6 separate regions of the Homo sapiens genome follow, and all the other regions are linked to region 1. Evidence: promoter capture Hi-C in 16 types of primary human blood cells and fetal thymus (Javierre and others, 2016). All regions are on one chromosome and are shown on one strand. The core of a region is centred on a gene start or on the middle of the fragment in contact, and the rest is flanking DNA. Distances in the headings are between cores, read along the strand shown.

Region 1 (3,298 bases), core at 447-2,946:
AGACATAGGAAATAGTTCCTAAACCCAAAATCCTTTTAGCATTTGTGAGGTAAATTGAGAGCATACATTAATAATAAAAGCAAGCACTCTTTGAGCAGTTCTATGATGTGCCAGGCACTGTTCTGAGCACTTTACATGAATTAAGTTGGTTTATTTCACAACCCTAGGCAGAGGCCATTATTGTTCTCATTTTACAGATGTTTGGCTTGGGGCTCTGCCATCTATCTTGGGCAAATTTCTTAACCTCTTTAGCTTTAAGGTATAATACAAATTCAAGAGGAGAGAAAAATCACTGTGGTTTAGCGCAGTCCAGTAGCAGGAAGCAGGAAGCAGAGCAGTAAATCTTGCAGGACTCTGATATGCCATTGGCAGGGCATGCCTTCTCACTAGACTCCCTGCCTCCTGCTTTTCTTCCTCCCACTATCACTACCAAACTGTGGGATCCAGTATCCTAAAACCTCATTTTGGTAAATCACTAACTTACTAAATAATCTATCCTGGCTCCCGGTTAACAAGATCTCTCCTTGAAACAGCACCTGTGCCCAGCTAGGCAAAGGAATAAACTTCCACACACTCCCGCAAACCCCTCGTCCATTCAATCTACCTGACTTGGGTGCCTGCTATTCTCCCAGCTGAAAATGACTTCTACATGATCCTGCCTTTGACGTCATTTGCCATGTATTCGTCTATTGTCTTACTTCCCATACTAGAACTTTTTCATGTGGATAGGGTCATTGTCTGTTTTGTCCATTTCTATTTCCCCAGTGCCAAGAACAGTGCCTCAAATACTTGTTGAATACGTGAAAACTAAATGTAAATGTTGAGTTCCAACCGATAGTAGATTGAAAGTGGAGGATGTGTTAATATCCTTAGCTAAGTCAGTAGAGACATTAAGAGACACCATCTAAAGTCAATAAAACAATAAATGGAAGTTGATACCCATTATTTAAAGCTACAAATGGAAGACCTAAAATAGCGATGGAAAATTGACAAGATTGTGGCAGTAAGAAAGTAAGGCAAAGAAATATCAAAATGATAAATCCAGAAATACAGTGGAACGCATATTATTTTGATTTAGGGTGCTAAAAACATCTAAATGGGGACAAACTAAAAGTGGCAGCCTCTGCAAAGATCTGGGGATGGGTAGTTACTGCTCTTCAAAATAAGACCTGCTTTAATGTTTGACTTTTTATTATACATGAATTACTTTGAGAAAATTCAAATAATTAAACGTTCGGTTGCTTTGACTGTGCCTTCCGTAGGGTACAGCGAGAGTCTGAGAAGGGCATTTGAGAAGGGGGCGGGGCCTGGAAGACTTCCAGTTAGGACCCCAGCGGGAAGGGAGTCGAGGGGCGGGCGGTAACCTCCGGAGTCAGGGAGCAGCTCCTGGCCTGGCCACAGGGCGTTGGGCAGGTCCCCAGGACAGCGGGCGGGTGGGGGTAAAGTGAGCGTGCGGGATCTGACTTCAGAAAAGGCAGAGTTATCTACCCACCTCCCTCCTCGGCCCGGACTGGCGCTTCGCGGCGGAAACTCAAAGTGAAGAAGCCTGGTTCCGCAGCGTCCAATGGCCCAGCGTCAGAAGCTGCCGTTCCCGGCAGCTCAGCACTTAGGGCCAGAGAGCGGCAGAGGCCCAGAACCCAAAGCCCGGCAGCGCAGGCCCAGTAGCCCGCAGCTCCCAGAATACTACACCCGGCTCTAGGCCCCGCTCGCGGGACGGCAGCCAATGAGCGGCCGGCTGGGCCCAGGTTGGCTTCGCCCAGGGGGCGGTGTGTTTGTGGGGGCAGCCAATCACAGGCAGGGACCAGGGTACCCCTAGCCAATTGGTGATGAGACGGGGGTTTCGGCGCTTCTAGGCATGTCAATGTTTTTTCTCTACTTCCTGGGTTTTTCTGGTCCCTTCACCGACTCAGATTCCCTTAAACTGTAGAGGGTTCTAGGAGTTAGTTCTAGGATAGGTCAAAGGATTGAGGCTCCCAAATGATGCCGCTCAGGCACTGCATTAAGAGAGGCTCAGGTGGCTATTCATTTGCCAGTTTGACTTGTTAAACTCAGAAGCCTGAGATTGGCCAAGTCTGGTTCTGTGACCCATCTTAGCAAAGGGTTGGGCGCACATATGGTGTGGACTCTGCTGTTCCTGGCAAGATTCGCGACCTCTCATGGTTCCAGGCTTTAAATACTGGGTTCTTAAACAAAACAAAACAAAACAAAACAAAACCCTCTCTTTTTTCGTTTTTACTTCAGCAACCAGCTTGTCATCACTATTGCCACAATCCACTTTTAGAGTGAAAAACAGACAACAGAGACCGGGAGTTGATGGAGAAATGGAAACCCTGGTCAAAAATTGTCATTAAAAAAGGAAAAAAAAATTAAACAACTGGTATCCCTTCCTCACCCAAACACATAGACACATGCACGCACACACAAAAACTGTTACTTAAGACAGTGATATGGGTTTTTCTTTGTACTCCCAGGGCCTTGTCCTTCTCTTGACACTTAGGTTTTAATAAGCAAGTGAAGGCACCTCCTATCCGCATAGAAAATAACCAGGAAATCTTCCAATTGAAGCTCGGTTCCAAATTATATAATATCTTAATTGTTAGGACAGATACTCCAGAATGCTCATGCCAGTGTCTGAGCCCCGGCCATGGTTAAAATTCTGAAGGGTGAGGCCCAGAAATTTCCTGCAACAAATAGGTCTATGAGAAAAAACAAAAGTATCTTAGGTCTGAGCTGTACCCTCTGTCTCACCCAGTTTTGGAGAAATGGCTGCTCTAATAGAATAATGAATGGATTAATTGAAATAAGCCATTTTAAACATTTATTTAACATCAATTTTCTTGACAATATTTTACTGGGTGCTGGGATTACAACTATGGGACATATAGTCTCTGCCTTTAAGGAGCTGAAGGTCAAGTTGGTTGTACTGCTCTGGAATCTCTGTGAAGTTAAAACAGTTAATGGGGAGATCATTTTCATGTGTAAGGTGCAATTTGTAACTATGACGGACTGTCAAGAACCCTGGCAATCAGGGTAGCTGGGGGTGGGGGCTTGCGTTCATGTGGGGAAGGCTGGAGAGAGGGCTTTTGAAGACAGACCAGTTTACTTCCAAGGCATAGAAGCTTTCCTTTACAGATGTCTTCAGAATGTTTTGTTTGTTTCTTTATTTGTTTGCTGTGAGACAGGTGTGTCCAGGTGAGGCTCTGTCGTGGACAAATTCCACAGCTGTAGCTGCAGACCCCAACCCTCTGCCCTGAATCCAGGATAGACCAGGACAACAAGATGAGTGGCTAACTGTAGG
Region 2 (3,298 bases), core at 470-2,969, 1.9 Mb after region 1:
ATCCTCCACTTAAACCCTATCTTCCTTCTAGGAGGCCTGTCTGCACAGCTGTGCTGGGAAGCTGATCCATTCCAACCACCGCCTCATGGCCGCTTACGTGCAGCTCATGCCTGCCCTGGTACAGCGCCGCATCGCAGACTACGAGGCTGCCTCGGCTGTGCCAGGCGTTGCTGCTGAACAGCCTGGGGTCTCTCCATCAGGCAGCTAGCCATACCCAACCCCAGGAAGGAAGGCCTTGGATGGACCCTCAGATTGAAGGACCCGGTGGACCTTGGGGTTGGTGAATCCTAAACAGAGAGAATTCGAGGTTGCCTGAAAGCTGGGTGTCCTTGCTCCTTTTCCTGGAGCCAATATACCCAGTTTTTACTCAGTTTGATTTATATTCTGGGCAAGGAAGCTTTGCCTACTTTATTGGCACAATCCGTTGTTCTGTCGTTTAGTGCATATCTGCTGGCTTCAGCCCTGGCAGCTGAGAAATTGTTTTCTATATGTAGAAGGAAAACCTGAGCATTTGCAGGCATCTGGTTAAAGCAGGGTCTGTGTGTACAATTTTAAAACGGGTAATATGTCATGCTCTTAGTTCATCTTCACAACAAAACTATGAGTAAGCGGTATTAGCCTCACTTAACAGATGAGGAAGCAAGATTCCAGAAAGTACCAGAAGGTCATTTTATACAACAGGAGATTGGTTCCTGCCCAGATGACAGAAAATGGGAGCTCTGTCTAGTTGTCCTTAAGTCTGACTGACTTCAGTGGCTCATAACCGTGAGCCAAGTATTTGTTGGTTCATAACTGTTGTTTTGTGAACTATGTCTTACATGTCTAGAGTTCTGCTGGATCTAGGGAAAGGAGGAGCTATCGAAGTACAACGGATCAAAAAACCACAGGGCTTTTGGGCACTGCCTCCTTGGGAAGTTAGTGGCCACAGAAGAGAGATGAAACCTGTAAGAAGTCTGGAGTCTTTTGGAACTTCAGCCATTTCCCCAGGTTGTTACTTTCTTAGTATGTACAGTCTTCTCAGGATGAGCAGTAAAACCTTTGAACAAAGGTCTGTGTGGTTGTCTTCACGGGCAATCAGGAAGGGAGAGAGCTGGGGACCATATTCTGCAATGCAGCCAAATCCGAGGAAGAGAAACTGAAGGGAGAAGTAGATGGCAATGGTTATGATAAAAAGGGATAAAACTAAATCTTCGGGACTTCTTTAATGCTACGTTAATGTTTCACTGCTCGTCTAGAAACTCCTAAATCCAGCTTTCTATCATCTGCCCCACATTGGTCCCATTGAGTACATTCTGTGATTTCTAATTCCAGCCTCTCCATTCTTTTCTCATTATTGCCTCCCCCGCCCCCCAACTTTGTGTAATTTACTTCTGTATTCAGCAGCCTGGATAGCATATCATTCCATCACCCCATTTTCTTGCCACCATTGGCCATCTTTTTGTATCATTCCACTTATTCTGTCTTTTCCATTCCTTCATTCAAACTGCTAGAGAAAAACAGTTGTGTAATGAATGCCACTAAATATTCAAGGCCTCCAACCTCAGCCAAGTCCTCACACCAACACGCAGTCACACCAACACACACCTTTATGGGTTCCTGGTCCATTTCCTTCTCTAATTACCATGGCAGTTATTTTACACCTCTACTGCTGTCCTTAATCCCATACCCCACCCTCATCAGGTGACCCTGTTTCCTTTTTTAGAGAAATTGAAGCTCTTAGACATTGGTTTCCACAGTAATAATTTTAAAACTTCTTACAACTACCTACAAAGCAGATGTTCTATCCTATCTACAGAGCAGAAAATTGAAATTCTCAAGTAGCAGACCCGGTATTAAAGTGCAGATCTGACTTTAAAGTCCATGTTCATTTTACACAGCAGGCTGCCTCTTAAGATAGTATTTATTGAGCACACACTTTGTGTAGGTTCTGATTTTGGTAGATGTCATGCTTTATATTAATCTTTACAACAACTATAAGTAAGAGGTATTAACCTCACTTAACAGATGAGGAAGCAAGAATCCAGAATGTGCCAGAAGGCACATTCTGCAGATTTCGTGCAAACATTTATACACAGCTTCTTTTTTTTTTTTTTGAGACAGAGTCTCGCTCTGTCACCCAGGCTGGAGTGCAGTGGAGCGATCTAGGCTCACTGCAACCTCCGCCACCCGGGTTCAAGCAGTTCTCCTGCCTCAGCCTCTCGAGTAGCTGGGATTACAGGCATGCGCCACCACGCCCAGCTAATTTTGTTTTTGTATTTTAAGTAGAGACGGGGTTTCACTGTATTGGTCAGGCTGGTCTTGAACTCCTGACCTTGTGATCCGCCCGCCTCGGCCTCCAAAAGTGCTGGGATTACAGGTGTGAGCCACCACGGCCGGCCTATACAAAGTTTCTTATTGAGAAAAGTGGTTCCAATCATGTTTTTTGCCCCCTTTAGCTGCTATCTCTTGAACAGAAAAGTTTGTTAGGAAGGTAAAAGTTGCTGACTAGGACCTTACCCACAGGGTGGCACTCTGTCCTTGGGAAATATAAATGCAAGTAAAACAGGTTTGAACTTCTTAACTTCCAGAAGATAGGAGGATGGGACCTGTGATACTGTGCTGCTGGTGGGAGGACCCTTCCACATCAACATTTGTGTGTATCCTTGCAATAAACTTCCATTGTGAATTATCTGTGCTTCCCGTCCTTCCATGTCACACAATAGTAATTGCTAAAGAAGAGCTAGGAGCATAGATCTGTCTGATTCTAAAGCCTTTGCTCTTTGAACTTTGAGAGCTTCTATCTGTACTTAACCTGCCTCTAGGCATGAAAAAACAAATGTCCCTCAGTCTGACCCATCTCTTAATCCCTTTCTTAAAATTTCAATCTCTTGTCCTGGTTCTTTCCTGTTTATAAATATGTTCAGTGTTCAGGAGAAAAACCTTATTCCTACCACTTTACCTTCCATAATCTGGTCTTCCTCAGGTTTTACCATAAAGTGATAGCCATTGGCATAATCGGAGCAATGTGATGTTCCAAGCACAACACTAAAGAATAAATGTTGACAAGCTTTATCATGTTATCATAAATGTAAACGTTGGAGATACTTTGTTGTTCCTGCCATTGTGGCTTCAGAACTGCCCACTCCTTTGCAAAGCCTCATTCTTTTGAGGCTGTTCATCCATACAACCCTCTGATTACTTGTCTACCACTCTCATTTACTACTACTCTCCTGCTACTTTAAATAGCTAGCCCTTGGTCTTCCTGTCCACTCCTTGATATTTTAACATTTACATAGACAATTCATTTGGTGTTTTGTCT
Region 3 (3,298 bases), core at 246-2,745, 1.8 Mb after region 1:
GAACAAATAGAACTGTAACTGGAATTTCACAATATTTCTAGCTGACTCCTGCTTAAATGCTACCTTCTCAATGAAGCCTTTCTTGACCACCTTATCTAGCCATTTCAGACCCTTGCTTGTTTTATTTTACTTACTAAAACTTGAAATTCTTTCATCTGTCTACTTATCTGGTGATGGTTGTTGTTGCTTTGCTTTGTTTTGCCTGTCTTGTTTACCATTATATATCCCTGACTCCTAAAATAGTGCCTGGCATATAAGAGTTGTTCCAGAAATATTTGTTGAATGAAAAAAATGCAAAAATGCATTTCAAGTACTGAGTAGTGTTGCTAGTGTTGCAGCCAAATTTCTGACAATTTCCCCCCCTCTAGGGTAGGAGAATATTAGGAATTGGGGGTAGGTTATGGTAGTAGGCATAATGAGATCTAGGAGTCACAGACGCCCTTTATCTGACAGTCCTGTTTCTCTCTCCAGTGTCTCGGCCCCACATCCATCTCTTCCTGGGATCTCACCTGCTATCCTCAGTACTTCCTGGGCCCACTCCCAAAGCTGCCCCATTTCTGTGTGAGATTTGCCTAGTGAGTCAGAAAAGAATTATGGGCAGACTCAGCTATGGGCCAGGATGAAGTTCCAGGACCCCTGCTCCCTAGCCAAGGCTGAAAGGGCCCTGATCCCTCACAGATGGCTCCAGACCCCTGACAGTCCCATATATAATCTTACCAAAAGTCTCAGATCCCTTTTCTACTCTGCGAAGTTTCCTTCCAACAGGAAAACACACATTCCGGAACCTCTGGAACAACATGTCACCAGGCCTCTGCCATCAGGCTCAATGTCCTCTCCTGACTTACGAATGAAAATGTGCTGTGAACATCATTCCCTCCTCATAGGTCAGTGGGCAAGGCTGGACTCTCTGAGTCCTTGGCAGCCTGGGCAATGCCATCGCTGCTACAGCCAATGTCTCATACTCACCTTCTCCCCATTGCAGGGCATGTCTTCTTTCTGGGTGTTGGGCAATGGGAGCCACTATTCTAAGACTCCCCCTCACCTTTTCTTTCCCTCTCAGCCTCTGAAACCTTATATTCTCCCTCCTGAGCACCCCATGATCCTCCATCAGGAATTTCCTCAACAACTTGTCTTCAGCTGTCAGAACCCTGTCTGAATCCTACAGATTTTGCTGGGCCTGCCTGGGGAGAGGGAAGCTTTCACCCCAAGAAACAAACACCCCACAGAAAACCCATAGTGAGAGTCTTCAATAGTCCTATTAGCAGGGCCTTGCACTGACTTGCCAGTCCAAGGGTGCAGTCTCCTTCTGGCCTAACAGGGCTGTCTGAGGGCATACAGCACATATACTGGATGATCATTTTTCAGCTTGACCCCTTCCCCACACACCTGGTGTGGTCCCCCTCACAGCACCCCGGATCCATCTATCCCAGAATACTACTTTATGGTCCCTTTTCCCTGTTGCTTCCTAATTCACCTGTGTACCCGAGAATGGCTTAGAAACCATTACTGGATCCTCCTGCTCCACCCAGGGACTAGGCCAGCAGAGTCATCTGCACTGCAGGCAGTCCAGGTTGAAGTTCAAGTTTTGGGCAGGAGTTGAAAGTAGAACATTGTACACATTTGGGAACCCAGGGCTGTGGATATGTTGGCCACCCTGGTGTTGGTCACAGGGTACAAGCCAAGACTTCTCAGGGTAGTCAAGACTCAGCAGCCTTGCTTCTCTTCCCCTCACTACAGGAGGCCCCTTCTGTGGGTCCTGGGTCCTTCCCAGGCTTCCTACTGGGGCTGAGGAAAGAAGCTTGTCGGTACTTGGGCCTGAGCACCCCCTGCAGGCCGCAGGAATCAGTGCACTCCCGCCCTTCAACTAGAGGCCAGAGCCCAGGAGTTTTTCCTCTCTGAAACTAGCTCTCCACAGCCTTTGTCCCACACTCCTCTCAGCCCTGGCTGTGCATCCTTAGTGGTACACACCCTTCTATGCTTCTTTCCCTTCTTCTGCAAACCTTGCTGCCCAGAGTGGATTTGGGGACCTCAATCTCTTGCTTCTCTGGGAACTCGAGCCCAGAGAAATTCAACCATCTCTTTTCCTGGGTAGTCTTCTCTATCCTCCTAACCAGCAGCTTTTTTACTTCTCCCAGAAGGGGTCTGAACACGAACCTGCAAATGTCTGCAAATGACAGAGCTTCCTCCTGCATTGCCAAGAGCCAGATGTAAGCTGGACACTGACCCACTGTCCCTTGGAATGGCTATGTCTATGTCCAGCCTGCTCTGCTGTTGATATGAGTTCTCTGACCTTAGCCATTTCTCCTGGGCCCACTGAGTGCTAGGTGTGCTGGGCCTGAAGTCTGTGGCTGTATACTCCAGGGAGCAGGAACTGAATGTCTCCTTTCCTCAGGGGTAGGAGGCTTAGGGATAAAGCTCCAGGCAGCCAAAGAGCTTGCTGATCCCAGCTGACCCCTCCTCTTGCTCAGTCTATAATGGGCCTTAGTGCTATATATATATATATATAGCATGTATATAGCACTTGCTATGGTTTGAATGTTTCTGTCCCCTCCGAATTGATGTGTTGGAAGCTTAATTCCCAATGTGCCAGTGTTTGGAGGTGCGGCCTCATGAGAGGTGTTTAGGTCATGAGAGCTCTGCCCGATGAATGGATTAATGCTGCTATAAAAAGGGCTTTCAGAAGTGGATTCTCTCTCCTCTGCTTTTCTGCCACGTGATGAACAGCATTTGTCTCCTCTAGAGGATGCAGCGTTCAAAATGCCATCATAGAAGCAGAGACCAGGACCTCACCACACACCAAACCTGCTGGGCACCTTAATCTTGGACTTCCCAGCCTCCAGAACTGTGAGAAATACATTTTTGTTCATTATAAATCATCAGTCATGGGCATTTTGTTATAGCAGCACAAACAGACAAAGGTAGCACTATGAGTCCCGTTTTATGAATGAGGAAGCCAATATTAGGTATCTTAGCCAAATCACATTGCTAGCAAGTGGCAGAGCCATGATTTAAACCCTGGGTGCCTGACTCCTAGGGGTGTGTTCCTACAAGGATAGTGTGTTCTTATCAAGGGGTTCGCTGGCAAATATTTAACAACTGCTCTCTAGGGGGAAAAAGCACTGATTTGTAACATTTGCAGATTTTTGTGATATAAATACTCCTACCATGGCCAACTTTAAGCTACCGACAAGACATCACCAAATGTAGAGTTGGGAAGGGATGTACAGTAACACACTGCATACAATATTCCTACCATACAGATATGATAGATATAAATAATCACAAGAGCACAGGGGAT
Region 4 (3,298 bases), core at 413-2,912, 1.6 Mb after region 1:
GGTTTTTTTGCTGAAAGGGCATAGATAGGAATTCTAGAAGAAAAAGTGGAGGAAGATAATGAGCTTAGTTATAGACCCAATGGGTTGAAGGTGACCGCGGGATACCCAAGTAGGAACATCCAGTGAGCAGTTAGTCATATAGATAACTGAAACTCAGGGAGAGTTCTCGGGAGCCACTATATGAGAAAGGAAGTCCTGTGGGTGACTGACGTCAATCAGACAGAGTTAGGAGGATGGCAAAAGTAGAAAGCCTAGAACAGAATCCAAGAAAAAAAAAAAACACCATCATAGAAGGAATAGACAGAGGAGCTTATGAAAGACACTAAAAAGAAACAGCAAACCAAGACATTATGGCATTACAAAGGATTTTATTCATTTTGTTGCATTACTTTGAATGTTGTCTTTTTATTTTAACAAGCGTAATACTTTGCAAAAAGAAATTAAGAAGCCATGGGAAAAGAGAGTTTTTCAAAATTTAATTAGGGACCACAGGTTTTTCTTCTAAAACACACTCCAAAAACACAAACCTGATTTTATCACTGAACTGTGAAAAACTCTTCACAGGTTCTCTATTGCCGTTGGGTAAAATCCAAGCTTTATAACATGGCTGACAGAACTCCTCCTGAGCTGGCCTCTGTCTATCATTCAACCTCATCTCTCACCACTACCCGCTAGGCCCTCTAAAATAAGCCAATTGATATTTGCCCAGTCACCCACGCTTTTTGATATCTCTATGCCTTTGCCCACTCTGTGCATTCTGCCTCTAGTGCTCTTCACCCTCCCATCTCTGTACCCAACTCCTATTCATCCTGCAGAACCCAGGCTCTGTAGGGCCACTTCATGTGTACTATAATAGCCTTCCGTGTATCCAGCTAACAGAGTACTCATCAGCAGCCTGGCAATGACTGCTGCTGTTTAGTTACCTCATGTGTAATTACCTGCTGGCCTGACTATTTCACCTAGCAGACTGTGAGCTTCTGGAGAAGGGGGAGCGTGTCTTATTCATCTCCAATTCCTAGTATTTAGCACAATATTGGCCTGGCACACAGAACACCTGCCTATGGGTGTTCTGATTTTGATTTGTTGACTGAGAAAGATGATAGCAGTGAAAGGAACATCAGGTTGAGGGAGAAATTGTAGGGTTTTTGTTTGTTTTGATATAGGAGATATTGAAGCAGGTTCACAAAAAGAGAAAAGTTGAAAGATTGGGGACCATAAAACACATGGAATGGTTGGTAGGATCAGGCACTAGAAGTCACAAGAAGGATATGAGGACAAAAGCACCATAGGATGGCCCCTATCACACTACCTATGAGAATGGTGTGATGGGGGAAGGCGTATGTGGAGGTAGATAAGGGTAGGAAGTAGGTTACAAAAATAGAGCTCACTTCTCATGTGAGAGGCATCTCTTTGTCCCTGGAGAATAGTTTAGCACCTGACATAGATAAGCCATTCAGTAATAGTTGTTAAATAAATAAATAGTGAGGCCCAAATAGAATTTGCAAAGATAAAACAGAGTGTTTGATCCTACACTAAAACTGAGGTCTTCTGACCCAGAGGACACCTATGTAGCTCAGTTGCTGTGGAAAGAGGGGAGGAGGAAAACAGAGACAAGACTCAGGCTTCCCTCTGAGGCATGCACCCCCACCTTCTCCAGGGATCTCATTAGAGGTGTTTAGCTGGGCAGGTGTAAGCCCAGGCCCTGGGAGACAGGGCAGAGTGCTAGAGCTAGACTGTCTCCACCCCTTCAGTAGCGCTAGCTCTGGTTGTGTTGCTAAGAGCCCCAAAGACAAAGAAGTCACAGCAGAAGCCCAACAGCAGCCTCCTTCAGGCAGTCAGGCACTAGTGCCCAACTCCAGAAGTCCCCTACAGGCAGAGAGGGTGTGGACATCTCACACCCCAGCACCAGACCACAGAACCATGAGCCAGGACACCAAAGTGAAGACAACAGAGTCCAGTCCCCCAGCCCCATCCAAGGCCAGGTGAGAAGTCCTGGTCCCTTGTGTGGGATCTCTCCTCATTCCTCTTGGTGCCCCAGTCACAACTACAGCTTTGAATGCCTGGTGAATAAATGAAGCAAGACTTTCTTTCTTACAGGAAGTTGCTGCCTGTCCTGGACCCATCTGGGGATTACTACTACTGGTGGCTGAACACAATGGTCTTCCCAGTCATGTATAACCTCATCATCCTCGTGTGCAGGTATGGCAGCGGTGCTAAGGGAGGGGCTGGAAGCCAAAAAGAGGACTAAAGAGAGGTCAAGGAGAAGGGCAGACCCTTGGTGGGGCAGGAGGAGCAATTCCCATGGGAGGGCCTGAGGCAGAGGGTTAAGGGCCCTGGGGAGACGCCTCGCACACAGAGGGTGCCCTTAATTCAATCATGCTTAACCCTGCCCTGCAGAGCCTGCTTCCCCGACTTGCAGCACGGTTATCTGGTGGCCTGGTTGGTGCTGGACTACACGAGTGACCTGCTATACCTACTAGACATGGTGGTGCGCTTCCACACAGGTCAGTGGGCTTCTAGGAATGACCCTTTGTCCCACATTCCCTTCCTAAAGATAGCCACTTAAGAAGTAACAAGAAAGGCACCCCCACCGTGGTAGCACCTTCGCGTGCCTCTATGCCTGACAGCATCCCAGTGCTCACCCCGGAAAGCCGGGAGCAGAGTTATGCCTGGCTCCACTCTGTCCTTCAGACAGTCTCCCTGGCCTGCCCTGGGCAGCTCATGCTCAGCCCAAGCTTGACTACAGCAGGTCCGCTTCCTACCGGCTCCCTCTCCCCAGGATTCTTGGAACAGGGCATCCTGGTGGTGGACAAGGGTAGGATCTCGAGTCGCTACGTTCGCACCTGGAGTTTCTTCTTGGACCTGGCTTCCCTGATGCCCACAGATGTGGTCTACGTGCGGCTGGGCCCGCACACACCCACCCTGAGGCTGAACCGCTTTCTCCGCGCGCCCCGCCTCTTCGAGGCCTTCGACCGCACAGAGACCCGCACAGCTTACCCAAATGCCTTTCGCATTGCCAAGCTGATGCTTTACATTTTTGTCGTCATCCATTGGAACAGCTGCCTATACTTTGCCCTATCCCGGTACCTGGGCTTCGGGCGTGACGCATGGGTGTACCCGGACCCCGCGCAGCCTGGCTTTGAGCGCCTGCGGCGCCAGTACCTCTATAGCTTTTACTTCTCCACGCTGATACTGACTACAGTGGGCGATACACCGCCGCCAGCCAGGGAAGAAGAGTACCTCTTCATGGTGGGCGACTTCCTGCTGGCCGTCATGGGTTTCGCCACCATCATGGGTA
Region 5 (3,298 bases), core at 454-2,953, 1.2 Mb after region 1:
AAGGAGATTGACTTTAACGCCTGCCTGGCCCAGATGTTTTTTGTCCATATGCTGACAGGGATGGAGTCTGGGGTGCTCATGCTCATGGCCCTGGACCGCTATGTGGCCATCTGCTACCCCTTACGCTATGCCACCATCCTTACCAACCCTGTCATCGCCAAGGCTGGTCTTGCCACCTTCTTGAGGAATGTGATGCTCATCATCCCATTCACTCTCCTCACCAAGCGCCTGCCCTATTGCCGGGGGAACTTCATCCCCCACACCTACTGTGACCATATGTCTGTGGCCAAGGTATCCTGTGGCAATTTCAAGGTCAATGCTATTTATGGTCTGATGGTTGCTCTCCTGATTGGTGTGTTTGATATCTGCTGTATCTCTGTATCTTACACTATGATTTTGCAGGCTGTTATGAGCCTGTCATCAGCAGATGCTCGTCACAAAGCCTTCAGCACCTGCACATCTCACATGTGTTCCATTGTGATCACCTATGTTGCTGCTTTTTTCACTTTTTTCACTCATCGTTTTGTAGGACACAATATCCCAAACCACATACACATCATCGTGGCCAACCTTTATCTGCTACTGCCTCCTACCATGAACCCAATTGTTTATGGAGTCAAGACCAAGCAGATTCAGGAAGGTGTAATTAAATTTTTACTTGGAGACAAGGTTAGTTTTACCTATGACAAATGAAACATAGAATAGACATATTGTTTCAGGTGGTGAGAAAATAATGGAGACAAAATTTCATAAAAGATGTGAATAAAATGGTATTAAAATCATGACATGTAATTTACCCATGTAACAAACTTGCACGTGTACCTAAAATAAAAATAGAAATAAAAAATCAAAATAAAGACATAAATTTGTAAGTCACCATAATATGTCAATTTTCTGAAGTCTCTGCAAGTTCTTGAATTTGTGTGTGTTGGGAGTGGGGGCAAGGATCTGCCAAAGCAGAGAATGCAAAATAAAGAAGTAATATACCCATTACTTAAAGAGTTGATGCTTTTCCTAAGCGTTTATAGACTCACATGTTTGTGAGACCAGAAAGGTAGTAAAATAAGGACAGCAGACCTGCTGACAATCCCTGCGTTGCGTGTAAGTGGGGAGGCTGTAGAGACATAGAGAAACGTGGGTCCAGTGTTCACTATTTTTCAGTATTTTTTAAAGACAAGCTAGATTTATATGTTCTATGAAATCTCCCCATTTTAATTGTCAGCAAAATATGTGTTAAAATACCCTATAATTCACAGAAGAATGTCCAAGGGTTCTGTTTTTCCCAAGTCATCAGTTTAGGGTCTCCATTTAAAATGGATCTAAATGGGAACAATAGACTCCAGGTTCTTCGAAAGGAGCGGGAAGAATAAACACTGAAAAGCTTTCTGTTGGATACTACATTCACTATCTGGGTGAAAAAATCTACAGAAGCCCAAACTTCAGCATCATGTAATATAACCTTGTAACAAACCTACACATGTACACTCTGAATCTAAAGTAAAAATAAAATAAATAAATAAATTATAAAATGGATCTGAAAATATAATTGTCATGTTATTGACCAAGCAGGCAAACCATTAAGCTATTAGTATATATTATAATTTATTTATTCATTCACTCATCAATTCATTTTTTGAAACACTAATTTAAGCAATATTATTAGTCATATCTTAGATTTATTGAGAGGGAGGCAGATGATACGGTTCCTGGTTTCAAGATACTCAGAATCTGGACTGTAGCCAGGGATGTGTGAGAAGAAATACATATAAAAGAAAGGGGAGAGAGAAAAAATGAATGCAGTGTGAAGGAAATAAAAAGTTTGTAGGAAAGAATTGGGGGAAATATAACATCAGTTTCAGATTCAATTCATCTCAAGTGTTAAGTCCTCTGTCTTTTAATTTCTAGCCACTAGAGTTGGACAGGCTACATAATCTCTCTAAATTTTGACTTCCATATTTTCTTCCAAATGTGAAAAAGAAAATGTATCACAGAGATGTTTCTTCTAATTAAATGCTCTGATGCAAAAAAAGCTTGTAGCACAATCTCTGATGTATACTAACCATTCAATAAATTTTAGTTATTTTTATGAGCTATTAGTTTCAACTCTGATTCATTATGAAAATCATAGTTTGAGGATAAATCTTTCCAGTTGTACAGGCAGTGCACAGTGCAGTATCAGTTTTGTGTGGACAAGCTTTCTTTTCTTTTTTTTTTTTGAGATGGGGTCTCACTCTGTCACTCAGGTTAGGCTGCAGTGGCATCATCTCGGCTCACTGCAACCTCTGCCTTCTGGACTCAAGTGATCCTCCCACCTCAGCCTCCTGAGTAGTTGTGACACAGGCATGCCCCACCATGCCCAGCTAATTTTTTTGTATTTTTGGTAGAAACAGGGTTTCACTATGTTGCTCAGGCTGGTCTTGAACTCCTGAGCTCAGGAGATTCGCCTGCCTTGGCACCCCAAGGTGCTGGGATTACAGGTGTGAGCCACTATGCCCAGCCATGGGCAAGTTTTCACTGAGTTCTCACAAACATACTATCAATGTCAGCCAACAAGTTTTTCTGGGTACAATCATGTGCCTGACTCCATGTGCCTACTCCACGCTGAGAAATGTAAATGAAAACAAAAACACTAGCTAATTCCTTGTCTAGTAGAGGATATAAAATGCAATGGAATCATTATAAAATGATAACAAGGTAATTGTACATCACAGATGTTCACAAAACTCATGAATCCTGAGAGCATGATCATCAATATCTATTGGAGGTAGTGAGTAAAGATTTTACAGGGAAAATAGTATATAGGGTCAATCTCGAATTATATGTATAAGTGTCCTACAAGGAAAAGCAGATGGAAATTATTTGGAAAAAAATAAACAACCTAGCTCTAATATTAAGGCTGAACAAAGAATAGCAAGTTTAGGTTCACAAAGGTTTTTGTATATTCAGAGGTAAAAGAGAAAGGGTGAGGAGTAAAAAATGTGACTAGAAAGGTAGACAGAGGTCCTATCAGGAAGTGCTTTGTGAGTCTTGTCACAACTTCAGGCATGCCCCACATTGCTCTTCATCTGAGAGATACTAAGTATATTAGAATCACCCTTCAACTTTAAGCAGCTGTTGCCCCATTCGTTACCCTTCTGGACTGCTCACATCTCCGCCATAACCACTGCCTCTTAAATCCTGTCTCCCTCTGTTTTTTCCTCCCCAACTTTCTTCTTTCTTCCACTAAAACTCATTTTCTTAGTTTTTACTTGCTTTTTCATGCACCAACCCAGGTTCTTTTCAGAACTCAAGGCATTCC
Region 6 (3,298 bases), core at 574-3,073, 1.1 Mb after region 1:
CAACATAGTTGAGAGAGTCAAAGAGGTCAAGATGAGCCCACAGGAGGGGCAGAAGAGAGATGTCTGTGAGCACCATGGAAAAAAACTCCAGATCTTCTGTAAGGAGGATGGAAAAGTCATTTGCTGGGTTTGTGAACTGTCTCAGGAACACCAAGGTCACCAAACATTCCGCATAAACGAGGTGGTCAAGGAATGTCAGGTAGGCTCCAAGATAGAGGAAGAGAGAGCAGAGAGCAGAAGATGGTACCTAATGTGAAATCTCCACTTTTTTTGTCCTGCTTTATTCCCCTTGTCACCATAGAACGGAGAGCCCTGTGATCTCTTTCCATACTCTTTGCTTAGTTTCTGATGCCTGAAGGACACTGCTGCACATTGTTTTATTTAAAAAAGAGTACAAATTTTTAGCAAGGAAAAGTTGAATGAATGGAGAATTGCTTTGTAAGATAAGCTTTCATTGCCCCTCCAAGAAGAACAGTATTTTTGGGAACACGTCTGGTTAGATGTGGGAAGAGTGGCAATGAAAGGACGTCTTTCCTTACTGCAGGGTCTGCTTTTTCTCTAGGAAAAGAATCAGGCTACTCTTGATAAGAGGATGGTGACTTCCATCATCCAGGAATAAAGAATACATTCATCTCCTCAGATTTTCCCCCATGCCATAGGTTCTAATCACCAGCCTCACTGTTTCTGTAAACTAGTTTCTTCTGAGAGCCATCCAATTTCTTCCTTGCTGTCCTCTATTCAGGTGCTGAGAAAGCTCATAACTTTACTCTGGTATAATTTATTTCTTACAGGAAAAGCTGCAGGTAGCCCTGCAGAGGCTGATAAAGGAGGATCAAGAGGCTGAGAAGCTGGAAGATGACATCAGACAAGAGAGAACCGCCTGGAAGGCAGGAGGAGACACCTCCTAAGGGATAATTAGACAGGAATCTGGGCAGGACCCTGGGCTCTATCACAAGGAGACCCCTTCCTCTTTGCTGTGCTAGAATTAACAAGCATAGAAGTCATTTGATTAGGTCTCAATTTAACTCCTTCCCTGTTGGAGTTTAGGGGCTGGAGAGTAGACATATCATAAATCAACACTATATTTGGAAGTGAAGGCATGGAGGGAAATATCTGTGAAAACGCTTCCTGTGAATCCTGTGTTCCATTTGTGTCATCAGGTTTGAGGCTCCAATCCTTCCAGTAAACACCCTGGAGAAAGACCCAGGATTCCCTGTTTAGGGGGTTTCAGTAGGGGGATTTTTTTGTTTGTTTGTTTGTTTTTTGAGACAGAGTCTCTCTCTGTCATACAGGCTGGAGTGTAGTGGCGCGATCTTGGCTCACTGCAACCTCTGCCTCCCTGGTTCAAACGATTCTCCTGCCTCAGCCTCCCGAGTAGCTGGGACTACAGGCATGTGCCACCATGCCCAGCTAATTTTTTGTATTTTTAGTAGAGATGGGGTTTCATCATGTTAGCCAGGATGGTCTCAATCTCCTGACCTTGTGATCCACCCATCTCAGCCTCCCAAAGTGCTGGGATTACAGGCATGAGCCACTGTGCCAGGCCAGGTAGAGGGATTTAAGATACAGAAAGGCAAAGTTGTTCAGGACAGGTGTCTACAATCCAAGCCTCACCCAGGCATCACATTTTGTCTCAGATTAGGCCTCAATAAAACTGACTTGAGTGTATTGCTTTGGGAGGAGCTCAGGTTAAAAAGTAGAAAAACATGGCTTCACCAGAAATTGTGTATTGGCTTTTGCCTCCTATTCCTTTTGAGAACTCCCTGAGGAAAACTGTTCTTATCCTGTCTCCCAGGCTCATACAAAGCAGGCCTTCAACCAGCCAGACTGACTGCCTCTTTCTCTTTTCATTCCCAAGAATTATATCCAGATCGAGAGACAGAAGATTCTGAAAGGGTTCAATGAAATGAGAGTCATCTTGGACAATGAGGAGCAGAGAGAGCTGCAAAAGCTGGAGGAAGGTGAGGTGAATGTGCTGGATAACCTGGCAGCAGCTACAGACCAGCTGGTCCAGCAGAGGCAGGATGCCAGCACGCTCATCTCAGATCTCCAGCGGAGGTTGAGGGGATCGTCAGTAGAGATGCTGCAGGTAAGACTTGGGATGGAGCACCTACGTAAGAGATTAGGGGAAAAACACAGAGGCCGATTTTCCTTCCCTTCCCAGTCTCTAGGCTTTCTTCTGTGTGGTGACATGAAATGGTTCCTTTGGCCCGGCATGCCCCTTTTATGCCCATCATTTCAGGGGTCACAGAGATCATTAAGTGTATGAATGGGAAGGGAAATTCCCATTATTATTCACTTATGAGAGCAGTGTAAAAATTTGAGCTTGGAGAGGATTCTTTGTACCATGAGCATATCAGTTTTAGAACTTTCCCATCACATCAAAAACATTTCTCATGCCTGTTTGCAGTCAATATCTGTTTCTACCTCCACCTCCTGGCAGCCTATCTGTTTTCTGTCTGTATAGAATTGGCTTCTCTGGACCTTTCAATATGAATTGAATTATAAAACATGTAGTCTTTTGCATCTGGCATCTTTAACTTAGCATAATATTTTGAGGTTTATTTATATTGCAGTATGTATCAGCATTTTGCTCTTATTGCTAATACTATTCCATTATCTGAATATATCATATTATGTTTATGTATTCACCAGTTGGTGGCTATATGAATATTTTCCAGTTAGGGACTATTATGAATAATGCTACAGTAAACATTCACTTACATGTCCTCATACAAACATGTTTTCATTTATCTTGAGTAGATTTTAAGAGTGTTGTATGTTGTGGCCGGGCGCGGTGGCTCACGCCTGTAATCCCAGCACTTTGGGAGGCCGAGGCGGGTGGATCATGAGGTCAGGAGATCGAGACCATCCTGGCTAACAAGGTGAAACCCCGTCTCTACTAAAAATACAAAAAATTAGCCGGGCGCGGTGGCGGGCGCCTGTAGTCCCAGCTACTCGGGAGGCTGAGGCAGGAGAATGGCGTGAACCCGGGAAGCGGAGCTTGCAATGAACCGAGATTGCGCCACTGCAGTCCGCAGTCCGGCCTGGGCGACAGAGCGAGACTCCGTCTCAAAAAAAAAAAAAAAAAAAAAAAAAAAAAAAAAAAAAAAGAGTGTTGTATGTTGTTTATGTATAAGTTTTAAGTTGTCGTACTATTTTCCAAAGTTGTTACTCACTTTATATGAGTAACAATACAAAAGCTTATAAAAAGCAATATAAAAAGTTTCTAGGTTCTTCACATCCTTGTTAATACTTGATTATTTCCTTTTTTTTTTTTTTTTTAGTTACAGCCTTT

The links. The method cuts DNA at HindIII sites, captures the fragments that hold promoters and counts their contacts. A CHiCAGO score of 5 or more calls a contact.
Region 2: a fragment that was not itself captured here is called in contact with the fragment with the promoter of TRIM68 in region 1 in 1 of 17 cell types (non-activated CD4 T cells); the score reaches 6.3 in non-activated CD4 T cells.
Region 3: a fragment that was not itself captured here is called in contact with the fragment with the promoter of TRIM68 in region 1 in 1 of 17 cell types (activated CD4 T cells); the score reaches 5.5 in activated CD4 T cells.
Region 4: a contact is called between a fragment that was not itself captured here and the fragment with the promoter of TRIM68 in region 1, in 2 of 17 cell types (naive CD8 T cells and total B cells). The highest score is 6.1, in naive CD8 T cells.
Region 5: a fragment that was not itself captured here is called in contact with the fragment with the promoter of TRIM68 in region 1 in 1 of 17 cell types (total CD8 T cells); the score reaches 7.1 in total CD8 T cells.
Region 6: a contact is called between a fragment that was not itself captured here and the fragment with the promoter of TRIM68 in region 1, in 1 of 17 cell types (total CD4 T cells). The highest score is 6.4, in total CD4 T cells.

What each region holds. Positions count from the first base shown.
Region 1 is chr11:4,606,535-4,609,832 of GRCh38, forward strand. It overlaps TRIM68 (tripartite motif containing 68), which reads right to left and starts at 1,697. Exons shown (of 7, transcript NM_018073.8): 1 at 1,493-1,697. RefSeq lists silencers at 1,262-1,341, 1,652-1,861. The HindIII fragment of the contact is 6,370 bases long and covers 1-3,117 here.
Region 2 is chr11:6,482,014-6,485,311 of GRCh38, forward strand. It overlaps TIMM10B (translocase of inner mitochondrial membrane 10B), which reads left to right. Exons shown (of 3, transcript NM_012192.4): 3 at 32-2,668. The coding sequence ends at 208. Among named protein-coding and RNA genes, the nearest start is that of TIMM10B, 2.2 kb to the left of the region's middle. RefSeq lists an enhancer at 1-110. The HindIII fragment of the contact is 2,649 bases long and covers 396-3,044 here.
Region 3 is chr11:6,441,770-6,445,067 of GRCh38, forward strand. No RefSeq gene overlaps it. Among named protein-coding and RNA genes, the nearest start is that of HPX, 2.4 kb to the left of the region's middle. RefSeq lists an enhancer at 1,586-1,655. The HindIII fragment of the contact is 602 bases long and covers 1,195-1,796 here.
Region 4 is chr11:6,237,287-6,240,584 of GRCh38, forward strand. It overlaps CNGA4 (cyclic nucleotide gated channel subunit alpha 4), which reads left to right and starts at 1,803. Exons shown (of 6, transcript NM_001037329.4): 1 at 1,803-1,982; 2 at 2,098-2,199; 3 at 2,398-2,504; 4 at 2,780-3,298. The coding sequence starts at 1,921. The HindIII fragment of the contact is 2,141 bases long and covers 593-2,733 here.
Region 5 is chr11:5,820,609-5,823,906 of GRCh38, forward strand. OR52N2 (olfactory receptor family 52 subfamily N member 2) reads left to right here. Exons shown (of 2, transcript NM_001005174.3): 2 at 1-875. The coding sequence ends at 693. Among named protein-coding and RNA genes, the nearest start is that of OR52N2, 13 kb to the left of the region's middle. The HindIII fragment of the contact is 649 bases long and covers 1,380-2,028 here.
Region 6 is chr11:5,696,457-5,699,754 of GRCh38, forward strand. TRIM22 (tripartite motif containing 22) reads left to right here. Exons shown (of 8, transcript NM_006074.5): 2 at 1-199; 3 at 792-887; 4 at 1,859-2,089. Among named protein-coding and RNA genes, the nearest start is that of TRIM22, 8.3 kb to the left of the region's middle. The HindIII fragment of the contact is 2,755 bases long and covers 447-3,201 here.